Linked DNA regions of Homo sapiens: all the other regions are linked to region 1. The links are contacts of gene promoters, found by promoter capture Hi-C in human tissues and cell types (Jung and others, 2019). All regions are on one chromosome and are shown on one strand. Each heading gives the region's core, a stretch centred on a gene start or on the middle of the fragment in contact. The rest is flanking DNA. Distances are from core to core; before and after follow the strand shown. Region 1 holds the start of RNF186 (ring finger protein 186). Region 2 overlaps USP48 (ubiquitin specific peptidase 48). Region 3 overlaps EIF4G3 (eukaryotic translation initiation factor 4 gamma 3).

Region 1 (3,805 bases), core at 1-2,500:
TTGCAAAAAGAATGGAATTCCAGTTCTATTCTACAATGGCATCAATACTGCAATACTTTCATCAAGTTATATAAAGAAAAACCAAGAACATTGGAATAAGAGGAACAGGAGCTTCCCCCATCTTGTCATGTTCAAGTAGTTTGTGTCTGCTCCCCTAGCCACCAACAGTTTTAGCTATGCTATCCCAAGGGCAAGTGCAAGCCTGTCATCCAAGCGTGTAATTCTTGACCCAGGCTGGCCATCTCGGTTGTGGCTTGCAAGTCCCGCTGGCATGTGATTTCCCAAAGGAGCCAGTCTTAGTCCGTAACCCCTTACCCTGTTCATTGTGGAAGTCCGGGGGCCCAAGGGCAGAAAGGGCTGCAGGGATAGCCTCATCAGAGGGCACTCAGGCAATGGAAGAGATGTGGCTGTGTTTCTGCTCTCTGCAGAAGAGAGTCCTGGAGGAGGGCCAGCAGCTGCCCCGGGTGCTGGGGAGACAGCAGAAGAGGGTGGACATCAGCAGGGCCAGGGCGATGATGAAGGTGAGCACCCATCGTAAGACACCCGGGTAGATGAAGGGCCCGATGAGGATAATGAGCAAGGCCAGCAGGAGTAGGTGCGCGGCCAGGCGCCGGGCTGCCACGTGGTTTGCACTTACTTCATCCTGTCCATCCTCTCCCACCAAGCTGGGGTGTCCTGCTGCCAAGTCAGCAGGATCCACCAGCCCCTGAGGACAGAGCGATACCTCTGTGCATGGCTGGGCCAGCTGCCCCACCACCGCCTCATGGTCGCGCAGGCTGCAGATGAGGCCCCCGGGGACGGCGGTGACCTTGCGGCACAGCGGGCAGGTGATGGACCAGGTGTTGTCCTGCACGCACAGCAGGAGCTTCAGGCAGATGGCGCAGAAGGCATGCTGGCAGGCCAGCAGCTTGGGCAACCGGGGACAGCTGTAGGGCTCCCGGCACACCAGACACTCCAGGTCACATTCTGTGGAGCCAGAATGACCCCCAGCAGGGGCCACAGCGGTGGTGGTTGTGGTGGCTCCTGCGGAGATGGGCTGGGACTGTTGCAGGGTCTTGGTGCAGGCCATTCTGGGCACAGGGACCGGTGGGACACTGTCGCTCAGCACCTGGGCATTGGCAGAGAGTGTCAGCTGGCGCCGCTGGGACTTGGATGGAATCTGCCCCTCCTTTTCACTCTGGCCAGGTGCCTGTTGACAACAGCTGTCTGACACTCCTCTCTCCCAGAGCTGCCCAGCTTGTTTCTTGGCTTACGTCGTCCCTTCAGTTATTATTATTTATTTTCTCAAAACCTAGGGTTAATCAGTAACTTGCGGGTCTGGAGACTTTGAATTGCCTGATAGGAGGGCAAAGTGGGCAAGGGTCTAGTGAATCAGGACTTTCCTGTTGGGGCCAGGTACCTGGTGGGTGCCCACAGAACTGTGGCTCAAGCTTTAGGAGGCAGCAGAATCCAACTCTCTCACCCCCACTTCCCAGGTCCCTGAACCTTTTATTAATTTTTTTTATTTAACTTTTTTTTTTTTTTTTGAGACGGAGTCTCGTTCTCTCAGGTTGGAGTGCAGTGGCCCGATCTTGGCTCACTGGCATCTACAAATCTGCACAATAAACAGACAGCCCTATGAGTCGGACATAGGTGGATTGGTGGACACTGCTTTCTCAGACACAAACTTTTGGATGTCAGGATGAGTGGAAAAAAGTTTGTTTGCACTTGGAGCACATTTACAGGCAGGTGGCCTTGGAAAGAGGAGGGGAGAGGTAAGAAAAGTGAGTGGAAGGAGGACAAAGCCCAACCCAACGCAGAAAAACAAAACCACATACAGCGCACAGGTGTTTGGCACCTGCTACTGTATTCATTTCCTTAGAGCCACAGCTGTTGTATTCACAGTTACGGGTGTATGAACTTCCCATCGGTGCCCTGCTGCACACTTCACATGCCTAATCACAGGTGTCCTGTTTTGTGCTAGGCATGCTGCGTATCCAGTAGTACTAAGAACAGCTGCCATTTATTTGGGCCTACTCTAAGCCAAGCCCTGTGCCCGGGGTCCCCAGCCCCCATTTCCCGGAACCCTGATACAGCCTTGTAGGGAAGGCTGGGAAACAAGGGCAGGGTGTGGTCAGGGTAGGCTGCTGGCTGCCTGCCAAGGGGCCTTCCATGGAGCAGGACCTTGTGGAATCTACCAGCGTCCAAGGTCTGGTTGAATCAATTTCATTGGTTCATTTGGACACAACTGGCCCCAGCCGGGTGGCGTAGGCTAAGAGGACTCATGTGAGACAGGCAGATATTAGTAACACAGCAGTTAGGAAAACGTGATTTCCTTACTTTGCCCTCAAGGGCAAATGGCGGGGTGGCATGTGCACTCCCTCAAACAAATGTTTCATTCAGGCCACTCTGAACTCAGAAGCCCGTGTGAAGGATCCTTTGGTGCTCATGTCACCTGCCAAGGGCCACACAGAGTCCTGTGCCTCTGATTCAGCTCTTTCCCTTACCCCAGTAGCTGGCACTGCAGGCCACCCTCTGTGTCCTGGAGTCACCAGCCCCAAAGGGGCTCCCTCCCTTGTGGGATCGGTAACTCCCACCTCCCCACTCCCCCTGGGCCCTCTATCTCTGAAATCCAATACTCTCACCATCCCATCCCATTTCTTCTCAACCTGTAGCTAGACCATCAGTTACCTCTGTGAAAGGAAAATAAATCGTGGGGCCCCAAAATCACTAAGCCACAAGGGAAAGTCAAGCTGGAAACTGCTTAGGGCCAGCCTGCCTCCCATTCTATTCAAAGTCACCTCTCTGCTCACTGAGACAAATGCATATCTGATTGCCTCCTTTGGAGATGCTAATCAGAAACTCAAAAGAATGTAACCATTCTTATCCACCTGTGACCTGGAAGCCCCTTCCCCACTTCAGGTCTTCCTGCCTTTGCTTCAAGTTGCTCCACCTTTTCAGATGGAACCAATGTTCATTTTACATATGTTGATTGATGTCTCATGTCCCTCTAAAACGTATAAAACCAAGCTGTGCTCTGTCCACCTTGGGCACATGTCATCAGGACCTCCTGAGGCTGTGTCACGGACATGTGTCCTCAACCTTGGCAAAATAAACTTTCTAAATTAACTGAGACCTGTCTCAGATACTAAGGTATAGATACACATCTATATCACGTTTTCCCCCAGATCAAGCTGAAGGTGGCCTTGGATCTAGGCATGTTTTTTCCCCCATGCCTAGCATTCTTTCCCCTTTTTTGGGTAACAGTTCTCTGTTTTCACTTTGGGCAACCACTGCTTCCCACCGTCATTCTGTGCTCACGGAGAGGGTGATGTCTGGCTCCAGCTCTCTGGAAGTGGGGCCCTGATACAATTCAGGACAGGCCAGTTAGCATGCTCTGCTCTGCTAGCTGCAGCCATTGGTTTGAGCGTAGGCATATAATCGAAGCCAAGCCAATGAGATTCAATTCTGAGACTTCTGTTGGAGCCCTTGAGAAGTTTCTCTTTGTGCTGGGTTTCTAAGTTAGAGGATGGAACCCTGGGGCTGCCAGGACCACAGTGTGCAGAGAACCTGCTCAAGAGTAAGGTCAGCACAAAAGAAAAATGAGAAAAGAATCAGACAAAGGCCTGATGATGTTATTTGAACACCTGAAGCAGGACACCTAGCATTGGATTTTTTCAAGGATATTAACCTATAAAATCTACCCTGATTTTTATTCTTAAGTCAGTTCAAATTGAACTTCTGTCCCTTGCAAGTGAAAGACCTCTATGTAACACAGCAATGGATGAAGAAAAGAAGCCTTTACTTGCTCTCTGACAAAGGGTCA
Region 2 (3,805 bases), core at 512-3,011, 1.9 Mb after region 1:
TGGATCACAAGGTCAGGAGTTCAAGACCAGCTTGACCAAAATGGTGAAACCCTGTCTCTACTAAAAATACAAAACAAATTGGCCGGGAGTGGTGGTGTGCACCTGTAATTGCAGCTACATGGGAGGCTGAGGCAGGAGAATCGCTTGAACCCGGGAGGCAGAGGTTGCAGTGAGCCAAGATCGCACCATTGTAATCCAGCCTGGGTGACAGAGCAAGACTCCGTCTCAAAAAAAAAAAAAAAAAAGAAAGAAAAGAAAAGAAAAGAAAAGAAAACAGAGTCTCATTCTGTCCCCTGGGCTGGAGTACAGTGGCACGATCATAGCTCACTGCAGCCTCGACCTCCTGGGCTCAAGCGATCCTCCTGCCTTAGCCTCCTGAGTAGTCTGGCTAACAGGCATGAGCCACCATGCCCGCCTAATATTTTATTTTGTAGAGAGGGAGTCTCTCGAACTTCTGGTTTTAAGCAACCGTCCTACCTCAGCCTCCAGAAATGCTGGGATTATAAGCATGAGCCACTATGCCTGGTCCCTATAATTTATAATACCTCAGAATGCAACTTAACTTCTACCCCTCACCTCTTCTGGATCTTTGAATAATCCCCAAAAGATTATTTTGCTTTAACAGACTTGTTACCAGAGAAATGGGGTCAGAATGTAAACATGTATTTCCTTCTGGGTGGGCTGTTAATTTAAATTTCCCGTGAGTCTATGAAAACTTATTCTAACGTGCCCATCCTCAGACACAATTAGGGAATTTATTTTTAAAAATGAAAGAAAAAGGTTAATTGGATTATCAAACCTTAACTTAGTAAGTCCTTATGTGAAATACAACGTAACCATAAAAAAGATTAAGGTAGATTTCCATGACCTGATTTGGAAAGAACTCCACGGCAACTACAATATTTAAATGGTTTCCTTTTTATGCTTTAAAAAAAAAAAAAGAGAGCTTCTTTGTGTGTGGTATAACCCCATGTGGTTATGAGGAAACAATAATGGGAATGCACACACAAACTTTACTATTAAATGAGCAGAGGAGACCACAGACACTGTGGGTGCACGGCTTCATTCTGATGTGGGGGTACTTTTAGGTAGTGACTGGCTTTTAAGTGGGATGAGTGTTTTTCATATGACAAGGAAAGAACAACCCAAATTCATTTCTGAGATCAGAATAATATTAAATAGTCATTTTACTGTAGTCTAGTTGGTAATAAAAATATATAGTCCTTCACTCTACTTGTTAGCTGAGTTTCTAAATATAATTTCCTATTATTCTAATAATTACTACCATAGTAGTTGTTAATATATCATTAATATTAACTATGAATATTAATACAATTAATTAAATTAATGTAATGAATGATAATGAAGTAAATATACTTGAATATTGTCTATGACCTCAAAATAGTTAAATAAATTTGGGTTGCTCTTTTCACTGGGACACATAAATTGTTAGAAATTAAACTTGTATCCTGCAATGAAACATGTTATTTCTTAAATTTTAAGAGAAAGCCAATCAACTAAATCCATTCTATGAGCAATACCTCCCAAAACAAGATCAAAGCAGTCAAGAGAGATTCAATTCAGTAAACATAACTAGAATATCTAAAACTCAAAGATTCTTTGGTAAAAAGAGAAATCTAGTTAACAATGAATTTAGATACTGGATAAATGACCCTCAACCCCTCACCCTCAATCTAGTTCAAACTGTATATAATACTTTGGGCCTCAGGACATCTCAAGAAGTACTTTCAAAATAACAAAACAAAACACAGCCCATCGTCTAAGCAAACTAGGTGTAATAAACAAGGTAAGCTATAGGAAGGTTATTCACTTAAAGGAATAAAAAGTAAAATGGGTAAGAAAGCTTGATATATATAATATCTGTATTATAAAGCTTGTTATATAATATCTGCAACAAATACTGAACTCTAGGATAGTAAATCTTCCAATGGAATATAATCCAATGACTAATTCACACAAAACCTGTGATACATTAAATACATACAACACGTTAGAAATATATAGGGGTTTTGTTATAAAAATATGAAAATTTAAATCAAGGACTTTCCAGGTTAAAATGATGTTTAAAACTGCATTTACTTTAAGTGCCTCATGAAACATCATCAAATCACAATAAAGAATTAAAAAAAAAAAAACTTTTATTTTTAGAGACAGGATCTCACTCTGTCACCCAGGCTGGAGTGCAGTGGCGTGATCATAGCTCACTGTAACCACAATCTCCTGGGCTCAAGCAATGCTCCTGCCTCAGTTTCCTGGGCATCTAGGACTACAGCCGTGTGCCACTTTGCCTAATTTTTATTTTATTTTTTAAATAGAGGTGGGGTCTCACTATGTTGCCCAGGCTGCTCTCAAATGCCTCAGCCTCTTGAAGTGCTGAGGTTATAGATGTGAACCACCACACCAAAGGAATTATTTATATATATATATAAAAGACATACAGTTATAATGATGAAGACAACAGAGGCAACAACAGGGATAAAAATTATAAGGGTTTAAAAGAAGGTTAATGAGACACAATAAAAATTAACTCTAAGTTGGCGAAAGTCAAGAAGTAGCCAGATTTGCTACACTGCAGTACTGTCCCACAGACCCAAAAACTGGGTCCTCATGAAGTAAAGGTAGGGATTTACAAAAAATGAGAGAAGGGATGGAAAGTCTATTTAAGAAGTATGTAGTTAGATGCTCAGTCCCCTTCTCTGCCCTTGAGATCACTGCCCCCTCTAGCCACAAAAGACTAGATGCTTATTCTAGGACAACAAAACCTAAGGCCCCTGAACAGGGGACACAAAACACAGAGACAAATGAAGTGACAAGCTGAGACAGGGATAATTAAACCTTTCCACTCTTCAATGCAGGGACTCCTAAGTCCTCTTCTTTCTACAGCTTCCGAAGAGCGACAGCAGGTCTGAATTTTCCAGGCAGGCAAATAAAAGATACTTACGGAAAAACCTTAGTGGCCCAATAGCAGACAGTGCCATTGGGAATTTCCCAGTGAAACAAGCCAGCTGGGGCTCCGAACTAGTGAAGCTCAGTCACCAAGCCCCTCCAAAACACACCTGGCTTCCACAGAGTGCCTAGCATAATAAATGAACCCGTACAACATTGGGGACAAAGATCTTACAAGCCTACCAGAAACTGAAGTGGAGAAAAATTACCAAGAAACAATGGCTTTGGACTTCTGAATGGTACGTCCAGAGCACTACCACAAAAGTCTCTTAAATTTTCACGGAAAAAATATTTCCAACAGACAACTAAATACCTAGGCAAAATTATCCATTCAGTATGGTGATCCTAGACAGGTGACTCTTGCCTCTCTGTGCCTCAGTTTACTTACTCATCAGTAGAATGGATGTGATAATATACTGATAGCACAGAGTTGTTATAAGATTAAATGAGTTGGATGGGCATGATGGCTGACGCCTGTAATCCCAGCACTTTGGGAGGCCAAGACAGGCAGATCAACTGAGGTCAGGAGTTCGAGACCAGTCTGGCCAACATGGCAAAACCCCATATCTACTAAAAATACAAAAATTAACTGGGAGTGGTGGCACATGCCTATAGTTCCAGATACTTGGGAAGCTGAGGCAGGAGAATCACTTAAACCCAGAAGGTGGAGGTTGTAGTGAGCCGAGACTGCACCATTGCGCTCCAGCCTGGGCGACACAGTGAGACGCCATCTCAAAAAAAACCAAAACAAAATAGATAAAATGAGTTAATATTTATAAATGTGGAAAACTACAGGCAAATGGTAAACATTCAATAATTGCCCACTATAATCCTCCTC
Region 3 (3,805 bases), core at 808-3,307, 1.2 Mb after region 1:
GGTTTTGCTCCCTGGTTCCTGGTTCCTGGTTCCTGGTTGCTCCTGCAGCCCAGATAGCTTCTCCAAAAGATGGCTTCTCTAGTGACTAGCTCCCCTCATGGACATAGCTTCATCAGAGCAAGATTTCTGCTTCAGTGCACAGCAAGCAACAGTACCCAGCAGCCAAGAGCTACCCCTGGTATTCCCTCAGGAAGACACGCAGCACAGTGGCTTTTCTAAGAAACCTCCCTGCGAACAGCTTTCCCTCGGCACCCTAGAGGGCAGAATTCTCACAAGTTCTGAGGGTGGATTTTCAGTAACTTCCACTGAAATGGCACCACTCCCATTCAGAAAGCCACACCGTGCCCTCTCCAACAAGGTCAAGATCTTAGCCCAGGGTAGGGGTAGCAGTCTCTCACCTAAAACTACCACAAAAAATAAGACGTAGGTTTGGTAGGCCTTTTTTGGATGTAGAGGCAACATATATACTACATCTGAATGTGCCACCTTAACCGACTACAGAGTCACCTAGGAAGTTTCCAATTTTGAGTAGGGAACACAATATACGAAGGTTATACAGCAAATTTGGGATGGGCAGTGCAAGCTGCTCTACCACTTGGGACTTCTGATCCAGTGGATCTAATGTTTTGAATTGTCTGTGGGAAACAGATATGCAGTAAGGAGCCTTTTAGCCATTGTGCCCTGCATCAGCTCTTGGCTATAAGAGATTGGTGCTGGAGAAGAAAGCTTTCCCCAATACTTCATAGGGCACATTTCCAGCAAGTTCCAGAACAAAGAGTTTCAGCAAGTTCTGAACAGCACCACAGTGGCTCTTCTACCACAGCCTTTGGCTCAACCCTACAGAGAAAGGCTCCCTATCTGAGCCTCTACTCAGCCCTAAGGTAAGCGTTTGCTCTTTATATCTTATATTCTTGAGAGTGCATAGTTTTTCTCTCCTGATTAGACTCAGATTAATACACCTTAATAGTAAGTTGAGAGGTTGTGTTCAGTCTAAGAAACCCAACACAGGAACCTCATTTAAACAATCAGGAGCTCATTTTGTTTTGTTTTCAATGTTTAAAACTCCAAATTATATAGGAATGATTTAGACTAAGTTTAGGTATAGCACTAAGTTCTTGACAAACTTATATTCATTAATAGGGCTATTTCAGTCATGGTTTGGCAAACTGTACATTCCTTTTCCAAACATTCTATAGTCTAAAATATAATTAATCAGCACATGGCCAGGAGATCAAGGCCAATCTGAGCAACATAGCAAGACCCCATCTCTACAAAAAATTTAACCAAAAGAAAAAAATTAGCCGGGCATGGTGGCATGAGCCTGTGGTCTCAGCTAACTGGGAAGCTGAGGCAAGAAGATCACTTGAGCCCAGGAGTTAGAGGTTACAGTGAGCTATGATCATGCCACTGTACCCCAGCCTTGGCCACGGAGCAAGACCCTGTCTTTAAAAAAATAATAAGGAATAAAAATTGTCCCTAAAAAATAATGAAGAATAAAAAATAAAATCAGCCCTTAACTTATAATCACCACCTTTAGCATTATTTTTAGTAATTCCTGATCTCTCCTATTATTCAATCTCTAAAAGGCCTAAAATATGGAGGCTAAAATCACAAATAATGTTATAAAAATGATTTTCATTATCAAAAGAGTAGCTGTTACATGTAAATACTGATAATCTCACACAGTTAGATCAACGTTATTGGCTTGACTCAGTCCACATTCTGTAAGGGACTTTATAACTCTAGCCAACTTTTAACCACAAGGAAATCCAAACAAGCTTGCAACAGTAGGTCGGTGCAAGCTAAACAATATATCTTGGCAAACAGCTTAAGTGCAAGGAACACATAGGAACATCCTCCTTAAACAGTGTCTGAACGTCTGTTGTTACTATTAAGTAGAAATACACTAAGGAGTTCACAATTCTTCTAACAGTTCAACAAAAACTTAAGCCTATCAAATTACAATAATCGACTTACAAAACAACCAAACCAACAAACAAAAAATCCCACTGATGCTACTCAAGAGGGGAAGACACCAAGTTTTCACATAAGTAGAAAATAACCATTAATGCTTCACCCGAAAGGGGTGCGAGACGGTAGCAGATTAAGCATCGAAAAGCAAATCAGTGCTTTGTGGGGGGGTTTTCCAGTAAACTTTAGAATAAAACTCTAACTTCTTAAACAATGAAAATGAAAACTAAATATCACCAACAGTTAATTTTTAATGACTTCAAAATGAAATGTGTGAAATTTGTTAGTAGCCATCTTTATGAACGGTTAAGTCTGAAAAGATGCCAAAGACAAACTTGAAATTACTATACAAGTAATGTTTTATGTTACTGCTTAGGAGTCTCTTTAGAAAAACAAAAATGATGCCTTTACAGGGACATTTCTTATTTTTTTAAAAAAGGTTTATCTTACTTGAGAGAGTCCAGGGGACGATGCATGTCCCGGGGGCGTTGCCGCAAGATTTGGATGCCCCTTGTTTATTTCATGTGCTGAATAAGGGGATGGGGTAGGGGTTCCCGGCTGTCTTGCCACTTGTGTTACCTGTGAGGAAATCAATATTTAGTAAGAACATTATATTAGTAAATCAATCTTAATAAATACAGCTGAACTATCTGATTTTTAATTGGATTTCCTACCTCACAACTTACACTAAAATAAGCACGAGACTGAACAAACACTTAAAATTTTTAAAATTGAAAAAAACAGAATTCTTTAAAAATATATACATGAATATTCTCATCAATTTGATAAAAGATTCTTGAAGCATGATCTCAAAACCAAAAATCATAAAGGAAAACACATGCTACAGGAAAGAAACAATACTTCAAACTACAAACTGTATGATACCATTTTGTAAAAGGAACAGAAAAGAAATAAATGGTTGAAAGAGGAAGGAGATGACTACAGAAGAGGAACAAGGAGATTTTTGAGGGTGACAGAACTGTTCTGTATCATGCTTATAGTGAGAATTGAATGTCTCTGCTTGTCAAGACTTATGGACGTATACACTAAAAAGGGTGAATTTTACTAAATTACATCTCAATAAATCTAAACTCCAAAAATGGCAAGTTACTTATACGACATAATCTCATTTTTGTCTTTAAAAACATATATCTGGCCAGATGCTGTGGCTTATGCCTGTAATCCCAGCACTTTGGGAGGCCAACACAGGAAGACTGCTTAAGAACAGAAGTTTCAGACCAGCCTGTGCAACATAGCAAGACTTCAACTGTATTTTATAAAAAAAAATTTTTTTTTCATTAGCTAGGCATGGTGGCATCCACCTGTAGAAATAGTTACTTGGGAAGCTGAGGCAAAAGGACTGCTTGGGCCCAGGAGTTCAAGGCTTACAGTGAGCTATGATCACACCACTGTACTACAACCTGAGTGACAGAGGAAAACCCTATCTCTTTAAATACAAAAAAATTTTTAAAAAGGACATCTAAATATACATATACATACACATGTGTAGGAATATTTCTATATACATTATTTGTTTACGTATGCATATAATACACACACATACATCTAAAAACATGTATATGTAATATTTTTAAAGATCTGTAAAGAGATATACCAAAATCTTAACAGAAAGCATTACAGGTATTTATTTTCTCATTTATATTTTCTAATATAATACAATAATCACAAATTTATACAACTGAAAAATAATCAGCATGTTTTTACGTAACCAAAAATTTCATTTTCTCCGTTTTTTGCAGGCAATAAATTGCTCATCAGCCCATTACGGATATGAAACCACTTTACTCAGACCCCTAGTGGAAGTGTCTACCAA

The links. The method cuts DNA at HindIII sites, captures the fragments that hold promoters and counts their contacts. A contact is called where the count stands out against the background at its distance.
Region 2: a fragment that was not itself captured here is called in contact with the fragment with the promoter of RNF186 in region 1 in 1 of the 25 tissues and cell types used here (aorta).
Region 3: a fragment that was not itself captured here is called in contact with the fragment with the promoter of RNF186 in region 1 in 1 of the 25 tissues and cell types used here (psoas muscle).

Annotation. Positions count from the first base shown.
Region 1 is chr1:19,814,033-19,817,837 of GRCh38, forward strand. It overlaps RNF186 (ring finger protein 186), which reads right to left and starts at 1,251. Exons shown (of 1, transcript NM_019062.2): 1 at 1-1,251. The coding sequence starts at 1,069. The coding sequence ends at 386. RNF186-AS1 (RNF186 antisense RNA 1) reads left to right here and starts at 377. Exons shown (of 2, transcript NR_186008.1): 1 at 377-521. RefSeq lists an enhancer at 2,712-3,243. The HindIII fragment of the contact is 3,016 bases long and covers 454-3,469 here.
Region 2 is chr1:21,708,658-21,712,462 of GRCh38, forward strand. All of the region lies in intron 15 of USP48 (ubiquitin specific peptidase 48), which reads right to left. Among named protein-coding and RNA genes, the nearest start is that of RAP1GAP, 41 kb to the left of the region's middle. The HindIII fragment of the contact is 4,321 bases long and covers 1-3,805 here.
Region 3 is chr1:21,048,445-21,052,249 of GRCh38, forward strand. It overlaps EIF4G3 (eukaryotic translation initiation factor 4 gamma 3), which reads right to left. Exons shown (of 37, transcript NM_001391906.1): 4 at 2,422-2,550. Among named protein-coding and RNA genes, the nearest start is that of MIR1256, 62 kb to the left of the region's middle. The HindIII fragment of the contact is 4,079 bases long and covers 19-3,805 here.